Regions from separate parts of the Homo sapiens genome. Here all the other regions are linked to region 1. Evidence: promoter capture Hi-C in 16 types of primary human blood cells and fetal thymus (Javierre and others, 2016). All regions are on one chromosome and are shown on one strand. The core of a region is centred on a gene start or on the middle of the fragment in contact, and the rest is flanking DNA. Distances in the headings are between cores, read along the strand shown. Region 1 holds the start of SLC4A9 (solute carrier family 4 member 9). Region 2 has its middle 23 kb from the start of IGIP. Region 3 overlaps LOC101929719 (a long non-coding RNA gene). Region 4 overlaps CYSTM1 (cysteine rich transmembrane module containing 1).

What was found. The method cuts DNA at HindIII sites, captures the fragments that hold promoters and counts their contacts. A CHiCAGO score of 5 or more calls a contact.
Region 2: a contact is called between a fragment that was not itself captured here and the fragment with the promoter of SLC4A9 in region 1, in 2 of 17 cell types (M0 macrophages and endothelial precursors). The highest score is 5.3, in M0 macrophages.
Region 3: a fragment that was not itself captured here is called in contact with the fragment with the promoter of SLC4A9 in region 1 in 6 of 17 cell types (M0 macrophages, endothelial precursors, M1 macrophages and 3 more); the score reaches 16.9 in M0 macrophages.
Region 4: a fragment that was not itself captured here is called in contact with the fragment with the promoter of SLC4A9 in region 1 in 1 of 17 cell types (endothelial precursors); the score reaches 5.2 in endothelial precursors.

Annotation. Positions count from the first base shown.
Region 1 is chr5:140,358,652-140,362,183 of GRCh38, forward strand. It overlaps SLC4A9 (solute carrier family 4 member 9), which reads left to right and starts at 1,543. Exons shown (of 22, transcript NM_031467.3): 1 at 1,543-1,815; 2 at 2,161-2,321; 3 at 2,603-2,716; 4 at 3,157-3,212; 5 at 3,366-3,523. The coding sequence starts at 1,586. The HindIII fragment of the contact is 10,887 bases long and covers 1-3,532 here.
Region 2 is chr5:140,147,257-140,150,788 of GRCh38, forward strand. No RefSeq gene overlaps it. Among named protein-coding and RNA genes, the nearest start is that of IGIP, 23 kb to the left of the region's middle. The HindIII fragment of the contact is 3,283 bases long and covers 1-3,205 here.
Region 3 is chr5:140,165,789-140,169,320 of GRCh38, forward strand. It overlaps LOC101929719 (a long non-coding RNA gene), which reads left to right. Exons shown (of 5, transcript NR_130738.1): 3 at 1,577-1,685; 4 at 1,893-2,014; 5 at 2,849-2,997. Among named protein-coding and RNA genes, the nearest start is that of CYSTM1, 7.6 kb to the right of the region's middle. The HindIII fragment of the contact is 2,022 bases long and covers 1,009-3,030 here.
Region 4 is chr5:140,208,313-140,211,844 of GRCh38, forward strand. All of the region lies in intron 2 of CYSTM1 (cysteine rich transmembrane module containing 1), which reads left to right. Among named protein-coding and RNA genes, the nearest start is that of CYSTM1, 35 kb to the left of the region's middle. The HindIII fragment of the contact is 1,674 bases long and covers 889-2,562 here.

The DNA.
Region 1 (3,532 bases), core at 293-2,792:
GGTGTGAGATGCCGTCAGAGAGGTGGGTTGGGGCCAGGGTGTGAATCTTGCAGGCCACGACAAGGAGCTTGATTTTTTTTTCTTCTTCTTCTAGGAGTAATGGGAGTGTGTTGGGTGAGTATTGAACCGAAGAGTAATGTGGCTCAACTGCCTTTTGAAAGGACATGTATGGTGTGGAGGATGGACTTTGGGCAAGGGAGGAAGAGTGGAAGCAGGGGGGTTATTACAAGAGACCAGGAAGCTACTGAAATAATTCAGGTGAGAAATGATGGTTGTTTGAATCAGGGTAGCAGTGCTGGAGGTGGGGAGATGTGGTTGGATTATGGGTATATTTTGAAGATAGAGTCAACAGGATTTGCAAATAATGGACCACATTTTCCTTTGCTCATTTAGCTCCAGGAACTCCTTCACTTACACCCCCTAGTGGGCTCCTCCATCCTCACAGGGCAGATCCCAGGGACACAGCTAAATTAGGGAATTCCTAAGTGTTGTTGGACAAAAGAATTTAAGACTCGTTAGCTGGGCAGCCAGGCACAGTGGCTTACGCTTGTAATCCTAGCACTTTGGGAGGCTGAGGCGGATGGATCACCTGAGGTCAGGAGTTTTTGAGACCAGCCTGGCCAACATGGTGAAACCCTGTCTCTACTAAAAATATAAAAATCAGCCAGGCCTGGTGGCACATGTCTGTAATCTCAGCTACTTGGGAGGCTGAGGCAGGAGAATCACTTGAACCCAAGAGGTGAAGGTTGCAGTGAGCTGAGATCACACCACTGCACTCCAGCCTGGGCGACAGAGCGAGACTCCGTCTCAAAAATAAAATAAAATAAAATAAAAGACTTAGCTGGGCATGGTGGCGTGCACCTGTAGTCCCAACTACCTTGGAGGCTGAGGTGGGAGGATCACTTGAGCTAGGAGGTCAAAGGTGCAGTGAGCTATAACTGTGCCACTACACTCCAGACTGGGTGAGAGAGTGAGACCCTGTCTCAAAAAAAAAGAAAAGAAAAGAATTTAAGACTCAGACACTAGGTCTTCCACCATTATCCCATTTAATGGGCAGGTCCTCTGCCTGCTATCTCCCTTACCCTGTCTGGCTTCCATGGACTCAATTATTTATTAGGTCCCTGTTTGTCCAAATAGGTGTGTCTGTGGCCCCAGGGGTGTGTTGGTGACACCCAAAACAGTCCTGGGTGTTTGGTATTTATATTTGATACAAGTGAGGGGGGCAGCAAAATCTGGGGGTACCAAGTCCTCAGACCCAAGCCAATCATTTACTCCTGTTTCTTTACACAAAACACAGTGGGATCAGACCTGATACCACAGGAAATGCACATACACATTTTGGCCCCAGGTTGGGCATTTCTGGAGAGCCTGGGAAAGGCCAGACTAGTCTTACAAATACTCTTATGCCAGCAGGGGGTGGGGTAAGCAAGTAGGGGAGTAGGTGACCGGTAGAGTCTGGAGTCAGCAGGCCTTGTTCTGTTTGTGTTGTGCTGCAGTGGGGGATGCATTATAAATGCAACCAGCCAGAGGGCCCCTGGCTTCAGAACCTAGGACTGTACTGGTTCTGAGATTCTGTGCAAGCCTCATGGAAATGAAGCTGCCAGGCCAGGAAGGGTTTGAAGCCTCCAGTGCTCCTAGAAATATTCCTTCAGGGGAGCTGGACAGCAACCCTGACCCTGGCACCGGCCCCAGCCCTGATGGCCCCTCAGACACAGAGAGCAAGGAACTGGGAGTACCCAAAGACCCTCTGCTCTTCATTCAGCTGAATGAGCTGCTGGGCTGGCCCCAGGCGCTGGAGTGGAGAGAGACAGGCAGGTAAGTTGGATGCAGGCCAGTTCTGTGGGATCCTTCCCCTTCCCCAGCTGGAGCCTCCTATATGTCCCCCAGCGCTTCTTATGGGGCTGCCCAAAATTAGGATTTTCCCAGCTGTGTTCCCTTATTTCAGGGTCTTACCTTCCATGATGCCCAGCCTCCTCTGCAGTCTAGTTTTGAGATCCCCAAGACCCTAGATGAGGGGTGACTGCCAGGGTGGGGGGGAGACTTCACACCACTGGGCCCAGGATGCCCTCATTGCCTTGCCTTCCCTAGCTCCTCTGCATCTCTGCTCCTGGACATGGGAGAAATGCCCTCAATAACACTGTCTACCCACCTTCATCACAGGTGGGTACTGTTTGAGGAGAAGTTGGAGGTGGCTGCAGGCCGGTGGAGTGCCCCCCACGTGCCCACCCTGGCACTGCCCAGCCTCCAGAAGCTCCGCAGCCTGCTGGCCGAGGGCCTTGTACTGCTGGACTGCCCAGCTCAGAGCCTCCTGGAGCTCGTGGGTAGGCTGGGATCCTTTGCAGGAAGGGCCTGGGTAGCCATGCCTTTTCCCCAGGATTTCCCCTCCAAAGTCTTGAAATCTTCCAGAGCCCATCCCTACCCCTCCTAGGATTGTCTACCCTTGTCACAGGGTGGACATGGAAAAGCAGGGTGGAGGAGCAAGTTCATTGGCCCTGGCATTCTGAGACTCCCAGAAGGGAAAGGTGTCTGGGCAGAGGGAGAAGGGGAAGAGTGTGCGGCAGGGAACTCTCAGGAAGGAGATGACCCCCAATCCATTCTCCAGAGCAGGTGACCAGGGTGGAGTCGCTGAGCCCAGAGCTGAGAGGGCAGTTGCAGGCCTTGCTGCTGCAGAGACCCCAGCATTACAACCAGACCACAGGCACCAGGCCCTGCTGGGGTGAGAGCCCCTCCCTGGGCCCAGGACCAAGACCCTGGTGTGGCAGGGTCTCAGATCTCCCCTGCACCTTCCAGGGCTAGAAGTAGCCCAGGCTTAGTTCAGGCTCCAACCCAGGACTCATGAGCAAGAGGAAACTGGTGGTAATGTTGTGGGGAGAAGATTCAGGGGGCTAGAATCGTAAGAGAGTTCTGTGAAGACATGTACTTGGTAGGCACTAGGCCTACCATTTGATCTTCACAGTATCTCATTTGATCTTCACAACCACCCTGTAAATAGTACCACAATTATCCCCATTTTAGTGGTGAGAAAACTGTGGCTCAGAGTGGAGAAGGGTATACTCTAATTCTTACAGCTTGTCAGTGGCAAAAGTGATTAGGGAATCCTGGTGGATCCACCCCCAAAGCCTGTGGTCTTAATCACTGCATAATCCTGTTTTGTAGGCTCTACTCATCCAAGAAAGGCTTCTGACAATGAGGAAGCCCCCCTGAGGGAACAGGTTTGTGGCCCTTCCTTGGGGTCCCTTTCCAGTGGCTGGGAGAGGGGTTAGAAATTAACAAAAGTCTACTCTCCACTGGATTTCTCATCATTTGAGATCTTATCCTCCCCAAATAACCTTTCATATTCTGTGTCTCCTTGAACCCCCATCCAGTGTCAGAACCCCCTGAGACAGAAGCTACCTCCAGGAGCTGAGGCAGGGACTGTGCTGGCAGGGGAGCTGGGCTTCCTGGCACAGCCACTGGGAGCCTTTGTTCGACTGCGGAACCCTGTGGTACTGGGGTCCCTTACTGAGGTGTCCCTCCCAAGCAGGTGAGGCTA
Region 2 (3,532 bases), core at 314-2,813, 210 kb before region 1:
TGTCAGTCCTTATTTTGATTCAGGGTTGGTTAGATAGATGCTCAAATCATTGAGGGAGGGAAGTCCTGGATGAGGGCACTGCACTGCCCACCAGGGTGTCCATGAGACACTTTATAACCTAAGTGTCTTTCAGACTCTGAGGTGTGGGACTGGGTTGCAAACTCCAGACATTAACTTTCTTTAGCATCTGGAACCTGGGTCCTAGGAGACTATTTCCTCCTTACTTCATCCAGACATCAAAAATAGACCCAGCAATTGATCCCATGTTTAGAGGCCCTCAGTGACTCTGCATCCCCAAGGGGAGCCTCATCTCCCAGGACACAGCACTGACACTCTGCAGACAGTACAGGGGATCTACTCCAAGCCCAGGGCAAGACCCCACACCCACTCCCTCTGTCCTTCAGTTCCCGTATGTGTCTTAGACTCCCTGGCCCTGCAAAGGCAAGGAGTGACCTGAAGTCCAGAGCCTCACATGACCACAAGACCCTCAGGTCTAAAGAGTGGCACTTGTTGGAGCCCTGCTCCTGTCCCCACCCTTAGGAGGCTCTGGGAATGGGGTGGGGGAATAGCCTGTGTGGCCATGGCCTCTGGCTCTGGCTTAGACTACTACCTTGCTGCAGTATTGTGTCTTCCTCAAATTTTCTCATAGGTGAGTGCTTACCAGGAGTGGCTCCCACAGAGCTTCCCCATTCACCCAAACCTGTCTGGAAGAGCACCCCAGTTCAGCCACCCAAACCTCACCTCTCACCCTCTTCCAGTTAGCACTGCCTTTTCTCCTTATCCCTGCCAGGGACCCCTTTCTTCCCAGGAGAGATACCCAAATTGTGAGTATCCCACACAATTTAATGGGAACCTACTTTGTGCCAGGCACCAGGCCACGGGTTGTGGATGCAAAAACAAACAAGAAGCAATTACTGCCCTCCTAGAGCTCATGGTGGTTGATGGGGAAATTTATTCCTTTATTCATTCATTCACTAAAATGTACACTGAGCACCTACTGTGTGCTACGCCCTGGGGAGTGCTAAGTTCTTAGGTAGACAGCGATGAAGACAAGTATAGGATTCTGGGGATTCTGCCATCCTTAGAATGCCACCGTGTAGAGTCATGGTTTATAGGGGACACAGACATTAATCAAACCACTTGGCAAGCAGAGAATTATAAGCCATGATAAAGAGAATCACAGGATGCTTTGAGCACCTATAGAAAGGCCAGGAGACAGGAAGCCCGGCTGAATGGGAAGGACCATGGGAGGTGCAGGAGCCAGGCATATACCTGGTAGAACTTGGCTTGGTGCTTATCTTCCTCCTGAAACATGACCCTAGACCCTTGAGAACGTCCCTTCCTGTGCCCTATCCCTCATTCCCCACACCGAGAAAATCTGCCAGCCCCTCTGCATGGCCCCTCCCTCTCTGAGGATACCCGGGCATCTCTCCTTGCTTCCTGTTGATTGGTGGCAGGAGGTTCTAGTGCCCCGCATGGTCACTGACTGAAGTTTTCAGGCCAGCTAAGGGGTGGGGCTTCAGGCTTGTGCGGCCGCTGAGTCCCAGCCTTCTGTGTTCCATGGACCATGGGAGGAGGAGCTGGGATTGGGGCATTTAATGAAAGAACTCCTAGGAGAGGAGTGATGAGGTTTGGCACATTGACATTCACACACCCCACCCACCCCCAGCCTCCACTCCACTGGTTCTCTGGCCTTCTCATTTTTTTTTTTTTTTTGTTTTTTTTTTTTTTTTGGAGACAGAGTCTCTCTCCATCACCCAGGCTGGAGTGCAATGGCACAATCTCGGCTCACTGAAAGCTCTGCCTTCCGGGTTCATGCCATTCTCCTGCCTCAGCCTCCCGAGTAGCTGGGACTACAAGCGCCCACCAGCACACCCGGCTAATTTTTTGTATTTTTAGTAGAGACAGGGTTTCACCGCGTTAGCCAGTATGGTCTCGATCTCCTGACCTCGTGATCCGCCTGCCTCGGCCTCCTAAATTGCTGGGATTACAGGCTGGCCTTCTCATTTTTAAGGCCTGGCTAGGATAAGTTCCCCACCCCTGTCCCTCAGAAGAATGGCAGGGCCTGGGCAGCAGAGCCCTGGGCCTGGGACCCATCCAACAAAATGGCTATTCCAGACGCCTGGTCCTGCCTGGCTTTGACTTCTCATCCACTCTACACTGTGACATGGATCTGGGTGGGGCAGGCTGCTCTGCTTCCAGGTAAGGACTGTGCCACCCACGCAGCCAAAGACCACCTTGGGAATACCAGTACCTGGGCAAGAGATAGCCCCTGCAAGGCCCACCCACCATAGGCTGGCTCAGAGAAGGCTGAGGATCCCTGTGTTCTCCCTGAACAGGGGTACAGGGCCCCTCAGCAGGGCCAGCTCCTCACCAGGGTGCCAACCCATGGCTGGTGGCTGGGAGGAGGGTGCTATGCAATGCTGGGAGCTTGACCCAGGCCTCAGCCTTAAGGAGCAAATGTGTCCAGGGCCACCAACTGGCCTAAGTCCTTGGGCATAGCCTCTGTCTCATGCCTCTTGATCTCACCAGGGGGGATCTCCAGGGTGGCCCGCCTGGGAATGCCTGTCCCTCAGCTGGCACACAAGTACCCATGGCAGTGCCGCAGGTTATCCAGCAGCAGCCACAACAGATAAGGCAGCCTGCCACCTCAGGCAGCCGTGGTCTCTGTTTTGCTTCCTTTTCTCTTTAGGATGAGACTGATGAGGGTGGGGTGGGGATTAACCCTTGAGTTGCTATACGTAGTTTGGCCCAAGCCTAGGACTTTGGGAAGTGCTTTATATCACTGCTTTCTTCCTGTGGCCCTGGCCTTTGCAGATGTGGGTCTCTCGGCCTCCCCTTCTGCCAGAAGCCTTCCCTTCTGCCAGACACTCCATATTCAGGGTGGCCACAACACTGGTCTGGTTGGTGCTGAGACCCCAGCACAGAAAAAGGGGCCTCCTCTGCTCCTGGTGTCATTGCCCATGAGCCATTTCTGTGGAGAGAAAAGTTTGAGAATCCTCTTTGGAAAGCCTGAAGTGTGGCACCGAGCAAAGGTATGATCCTTGTTCTCACCTTCCTGGCCCTGCATTCATCCCATTCCATCCCTGCTCTCTAGTTACAGGAACACCCTATGGCCTCCAGGCCAGTGCATTTGGTCCCTGGTAGGCAGGGCTGCCTGCCTGCCTGAGTTTCCCACATGGGAAGATGCAGCAAGACCTCCCCAAGCTTTTGGAAGAGGCAAGGACAGCAGCTGGGCCATCTGGCACTCTGGGCAGGGGGTGGGGTCCAGAAAGGGGTGGCAGACCCTGCTCAGAACCCAGTGGCTACCTTTCTCGTCTCATTTGAGCTCACTGAGCTCCTCTCTAAGGTACTGTAAATGTTAAACAAATTCAGACTCTGTTAGGTTGGACAACATTAAAGTATCCTGGATAGATGCTTGAAACGCAGCAAGGGACAGATAATAAGAGTAATACTACCATTTACTGTTCACTGTGTACATGCATGAATTTTATTATATAATCCTTTAAAATTAATTCGTTATTTAATCCCA
Region 3 (3,532 bases), core at 770-3,269, 190 kb before region 1:
GGTTGACACTTCAGATCAAGATCTCCAGATTGGCAGGCAGAGAGCAAGGCCACTGGTTCTAGTGTGAGATAATGGGGGACTGGGCCTGGGACTGAGCAGGGGTGGGCGGGGCAGGGAGTAGAGCCAAACTCTGCTAAGCAGTGACTAGGACTCTCCCGATTGAGGCAAAGCTCTCCAGATCTTGAGGCCCCAGAGGGCCATAAATACTTTCATGCGCATCTGTTCTCTTGGAGGGCTTGTCACACCTGAAGGCTCCTAGGCCCTGGCTCCCAGGGATTCAGAAGTGATAGGTCTAGGATGAAGCCCAGGAATCTGCATACATAAAAAGTGACACTCTCCACTCTGATGCGGGTGGACTCCATACCTTCCAGGCTGGGGAGGGGAGGGGGCAGGACAAGCACACTCTCATCTGGACTGTGGCTGAAGCAGCTCAGAGAATCGAAGGTAGCATCTAAAATAAGGACCTGGATGCACTGGGAACAAAGGTAGTGTGTGTCTCCACTGCTGCAGCTAAAGAATTGCAGTGGAGTGGCCCTGGTCATCATGCAGAAAAATGACTCCTGATCACCAGTCCAAGGAGCCACAGAAATAAGAGATGGGGCCATGATCGGACCATAGATCTGTCTTTTAACCTGTACCTTCTCCTAGGGTGCAGACAGGGAGGCAGGAAGGGGATTACTGGAGGCTGCAGTAAACTAGAGAACAAGCTCTGTGCAAAGGAAGCCTCTCTTACCATTCAGCATCTCAATGAATTAACCCTCACAACAGCTCTATGTGGTTGGTCCTATTATTATTCCCATTTCTTAGATGGGGAAACTGAGACTCAAAAAGGTGGAGTAAGTAGTGCTGGGTCCCAAGGTGAGGACATAGGGGAACCATGGCTGGAACACAGGCCTCTGGACACTCCGAATCATAGCATTGCCCTGTGTCCCCTTCAGTGGGAAAAGTCACTTCATCTCTTAATCTTAAATGATCTTCCAAGCAAGAGGAGGGGAGAGGAGGAGTATAAGCTTTCTTTGTCCCATCTTTTTCAGAAGGTATCTAAGTCCTTCCTGTGTGTGTCTTCCAAAGATACAGTACCAGGACCTAGAGAGGCTGAGATTTAGAGCCTCATGGTGCAAACTCAATTGTAGGGTCCTAGCCAGGACTACTTGCCTGTATCTTCTAAGAATCTCACAACAGTGCCACATGCCTCAGCTTTATCCAAGCAACAGAAGGAGGTGGTGGAGGTGGTGATGGCAGCAGCAGCAGCAGCAGCAGCAGTGGCAGCAAATCTGTCCCCAGTGCACTACAGTACTGTTTTGCTATGATGAAATACACATGGCATATGGCTACAAAGTTACTATCTTGAGAGTGGATAGAAATGGGATTTTTCATGTGCCAGATTTCACTTCCCTTTCTGAAACAATTCTTGTAGTAAACAGAGGTTTTCTGATCTTGCTAAGATCAAGAGGATGGGAATTCCTTTACACTTTTAAAGTAAGACCACTGTCTTGTAGAGTTTCAGTCTGTTGATGGTGCAAATGTTTTTTAAACATGGACGCTATTCTGTGTTCCTCCCTCTTTCCTTCCAAAGGCTACGACACAAAGAGGAGCTGCTAACACCAGATGACCAACTCCTTTCCAGTTACGGACCATCCCGGTGATGAGACCTCCATATGTTGTCTGATGGCCGCAGTTCCTTGGCAAGTGGGTGGGGAAAAGGAAAGTTGTGTTGAGTGTGGGAGGCCACAGGGTGGAGGAGGTTAGGAAGGACCAGAAAGCACATAGAATGTGACTTTAAGGAGGAGAATTTTTTTGAACCATGTCTTGTGTGCTGACAGCATAATGATCATTATTAGGGCCTCAGATGTAACATGAAGCCCACCCTGAAGTTAAATTTTCCTTTTCAGAGAAGCGTGGCCTGTCAGCCCAGCATCAGATGGTTCCATGCCAACCTCCTCCATGGCTAGGTGTTGGAGCGCCCCAGCTGCTGCCTCCCTGGTAGCTTTCATTAAAGGACTTTGCTTTTTTGGTAAATAAGGGCCCCATTTTTCTACCTTAGTCTTTGAAAATCAACCTGAGAAACACTTTGTGTAAGTACCACAGATGTATTTGCAGTTTTCTACACACATTTAGTTTCTGGGGTTTTTCGTTGTTTTTTGTTTGTTTGTTTTTTGAGATAGAGTTGCCCAGGCTGGAGTGCAGTGGCATGATCTTGGCTCACTGCAGCCTCCACCTCCCAGGTTCAAGTGATTCTCCTGCCTCAGCCTCCCGAGTAGCTGGCATTACAGTTGTGTACCACCACGTCCACCTAATTTTTTGTATTTTCAGTAGAGATGGTGTTTCACCATGTTGGCCAGGCTGGTCTTGAACTCCTGACCTCAAATGATCAACTGCCTTGGACTCCCAAAGTGCTGGGATTACAGGCATGAGCCACTGTGCCCGGCTGGCCAACTAGTTTCAAGGTTGCTATCTGGAATCCTACCTCCCCAGGCACCCTCCTGGTCACAGCATGACCTCTAACAGAGGGGCAGATCTGTAGCCTTAGTTGTACCCAGACAAATTTGGTTTGGCTTTCATGGTATTTTGAAATTGGTTTTCATGTCAAAATCCTGTTTGCTGGCTTCTCTTGAAAAATCAGAAAACTTGGCCACATTGAGTTATATTCCTGAATGTCAAGTGGCTGGATCTGAATGAGTAGTGCTCCCTTTGCACAGAGCATGTTATCTGATATGCCTCAGTCCCTACCACTTCCCACCATCCCCCGCAACCACACCCCAAGAGAAAATATGAGCTAAAAGGCAGATATAGATATAGGTGTTCTGGTCTTGACCCTACCACTCATTTCCTGTGGCTCCTTGAACAGGTGTCTACATCTCTTAGGAAGAAGAGAATAATGAGATGATGTATGCAGAGCACTGGCAGAAAGCCTAGCATAGAGGAATCTGAGGATTCGCCATGCATGCTTCCTGGTATATAGTACTAGTTCTTGTCAATGGCACAGAGACTTGAAGACTGTATATAAATGGACACACCTACTAGAATGTAAGCTTCATATGCACAAGGACTTTAAAAAATCTGTTTTGCTTATTTCTACATCCCCAGGGCCTAGAGCAGTCCCTGGCACATGGTAGGCCATAGGCCCTCAGTAAATGTGTTGAATGAATATGTGGATTTAATATTTCCCTGACTTATTTTCTTATGTCATGTGCTAAGTCATCGGTCCATTTTAAAAATATAAATGCAAATAGACTTATAAGCTGATTATTTCTAATTTATATGTGTTGAATTTATTTTCTTAATTACTGAAAAGATTAAAAAGCAGAAGGATGCTTCATAGTTGACGGAACTTCATTGCCATAGTCATTTGACTCACAGCCTGGGAGAAAAATGTATTCTTCTTCTAGGTTGATTTTCTAAGATCACTATCAGAAGGCCAGGCTACTTCAGGAATCAAGTCAAAATTAAAAACACATGCATTTATGTGATACCTCTTGAGAACGCAAGTTGCTGTACAAACACATTTAAAGCATTAAGTGCTCCCTGATGC
Region 4 (3,532 bases), core at 476-2,975, 150 kb before region 1:
TATGCTAAGTGAAATAAGCTAGGCACAAAGACAAACATTGTGTGTTCTCACTTATTTGTGGGATCTAAAAATCAGAACAATTGAACTCATGGAGATAGAGAGTAGGATGGTAACCAGAGGCTGGCAAGGGTAGTAGGGGGAGGTGGGAATAGTTAGTGGATACAAAAGAATAGTTAGAAAGAATGAATGAGTCTGGTATTTGCTAGCACAACAGAGTGACTATAGTCAGTAATAATTTTATTGTACATTTAAAAATAACTAAAAGAGTATAATTTGATTGTTTGTAACACAAAGGATAAATACTTGAGGGAAAGGATACCCCATTCTCTATGATGCATTACATGCCTGTATCAAAACATCTCATGTACCCCATAAATATATACACCTACTATGTACCCACAAAAATTAAAATAAAAAAATATTTTTAAAGAATTAAGGTCTTCTTGGCTGGGTGTGGTGGCTCACGCCTATAATCCCAGCACTTTGGGAGGCCGAGGCAGGCGGATCACGAGGTCAGGAGATTGAGACCATCCTGGCTAACATGGTGAAACCCTGTCTCTACTAAAAATACAAAAAATTAGCCAGGTGTGGTGGCAGGCGCCTGTAGTCCCAGCTACTCGGGAAGCTGAGGCAGGAGAATGATGTGAACCCAGGAGGCAGAGGTTGCAGTGAGCCGAGATCACGCCACTGCACTCCAGCCTGGGTGACAGAGCGAGACTCCATCTCAAAAAAAAAAAAAAAGAATTAAGGTCTTCTCTACTATCTGAAAGGTCCATGATGGGAAACCTTGCCTAATTTAACCATTCACCAGTAACTACTTGTCACGTGATTCAAGATGAAGAAGAGTTTAAAGATATGCAGGAGAGAGGACAGAAGGGGACTGGAATAAGCTTTTTTAAGTGGTTAAACTCTGGGCTTGATTTTGTAGAAAAGACTGCTCGTACTTTCTTTCTTTTCTTTTTTTTTTTTTTTGAGATGGAGTCTTGCTCTGTTGCCCAGGCTGGAGTGCAATGGTGTGATCTCAGCTCACTGCAACCTCCGCCTCCTGGGTTCAAGTGATTATCCTGCCTGAGCCTTCCGAGTAGCTGGGATTACAGGCACACAACACCATGCCTGGCTAATTTTTTTTTTTTTTGAGATGGAGTCTTGCTCTGTTGCCCAGGCTAGGGTGCAGTGGCGTGATCTCAGCTCACTGCAACCTCCGCCTCCCGGGTTCAAGCGATTCTCCTGCCTCAGCCTCCTGAATAGCTGGGACTACAGGTGCCTGCCACCATGCCCAGCTAATTTTTGTATTTTTAGTAAAGGCGGGGTTTCACCATATTGACCAGACTGGTCTCGAACTCCTGACCTTGTGATTCACCTGCCTTGCCCTCCCAAAGTGCTGGGATTACAGGCGTGAGCCACCGTGCCCAGTAATTTTGTATTTTTGTAGAGACAGGGTTTCACCATGTTGGCCAGGCTGGTCTCAAACTCCTGACCTCAGGTGATCTGCCCACCTCAGCCTCCCAAAGTACTGGGATTACAGGCGTGAGCCACCGCGCCTGGCTGTTTGCACTTTTTTTTTCCTTTCTCACCTTACTCATTTGTTGGGACCTGAGTAGAATATTCATTATGTAGCAGGGGGTTGGAGCACTGTTATAATACCAGCAGTCACAAATGTCTTAATAATCAGAATGGAGAGATGTAGTTTTGGGGCATTCTTGCCTCCACTGAGTTCTGGCCTTCACTCTTTTTCTGGTCCTTAAACATAGTAATAATGCTCATAAAAATTTTTTTAATTATCATAATTCACACACCCTACTTTCTCAAATCATTTTCATTGTCTTATTTCCTAGTCAGTTCTTGTTTATACGCACATGTCATTTATACCTGGCTACCACTATAATGTAGATACCATTGTGTATTTTGGTCCCCCACCCCACCCACTTTTGTCATACGCAACTTTTCTATAGGTTAAAATTTCTCAGCCTCAGTGCTATTGACACTTGGGCCAGATGATTTTTTGTTGTGGGGGCTGTCCTGTGTATTGTAGGATGCTCAGCAGCATCCCTAGCCTCTACCATTAAATACCAGTAGTAGCAATCACCTCAGTTATAACAACTGAAAATGTCTCTAGACATTACCAAATGTCCCCTAGGGGCCAACATCACCCCTCCTTTGAGAACCACTGCCATAGAGTCTTAATTTAAGAAAATTTATTTTTCTTCTTTTTTTTTTTTGAAATAGGGTCTTGCTCTGTTGCCCAGGTTGGAGTGCAGTGGTGCAACTTTGGCTCACTCCAACCTCTGCCTCCCAAGGCTCAAATAATCCCACCTTAGCCACCTGAGTAGCCAGGACCACAGGTATGCACCACGATGCCCAGCTAATTTTTGTATTTTTTGTAGAGACAGGGTCTCGCTCTGTTACACAGGCTGGTCTTGAGTTCCTGGGCTCAAACCATCTGCCCGCCTCGGCCTCCCAAAGTACTGGGATTACAGGTGTGAGCCACTGCACCTGGCCTTAATTAAAATTTTAAGTGAGCCATTGCTTTTGAACCCAGTGAAGGAAAAGGTCTTCCTAATAAGCTTCATGAGCAGCTGAAAAATACATGACTTTTTCTGATGGCCTGCTGAGGGAGAAGGTTTTGGAAATTTGGAACTATAAAGAACTCTCTCCTGACTGGACAGGCTGTGTTTCTGAGCCTCTCTGCAGTCTGGGGCTAGAGAATCTGGATGTTTGGTAACAATTTCTAGATTAAAACCACCAGAACCAGAAGAGTTTGGGGCCAGTGGTTTAAGTTTTTAAGTATTAATTATTAAATAATAAATACTAGCCAAATAATAGAACCAGTATTTGTCTAGTAGTTATTATGTGTCAAGCACTTTTGTATATTAGCTCATCTAGTCCTAAGAACAATCCTGCAAGGTAGGTCTTCTTATCTCCATCATATAGATGAAGAAACTGAAGCATGGAAAGGCTAACTTGTTCATGGTCACAGAGCTAAGAAGTGATGGAGCTGAGATTCAAACCTAGCAATCTGATTCCAGAGGCTATGCTTGTCAGCAACTACCACCATTTTCTGAGCACCTACTGAAATCCCTGATACTTGGCTGAGAGCATTGTAAACACGGCTTCCAAGTTTTACAACAGCTCTTCAGGGTAGTGGTATCTCAAATTTTACATCTGTGGAACCAGGGTCTTAGAGAAGCTATAATAACATCTTGTCTATGATCCCCCAGATCTCTGACCCAGAGCCTGACATACTTCCATGTATCATGTGGCCTTCCATGCATGAGTAAAAATTGTTTTATAACCTACTCTTCCCTTTTCCCCTGGAACCTCGTACAGCAAATACCTGTTAAATCCCTTCAGTGGCCAGGTGCAGTGGCTCACGCCTGTAATCCCAGCACTTTGGGAGGCCAAGGTGGGTGGATCACTTCAGGTCAGGAATTCAAGACCAGCCTGGCCAACATAGTGAAACCCTGTTTCTACCAAAAATACAAAAATTAGCCAGGCATGGTGGCGCACACCTGTAATCCCAGCTACTGGGGAG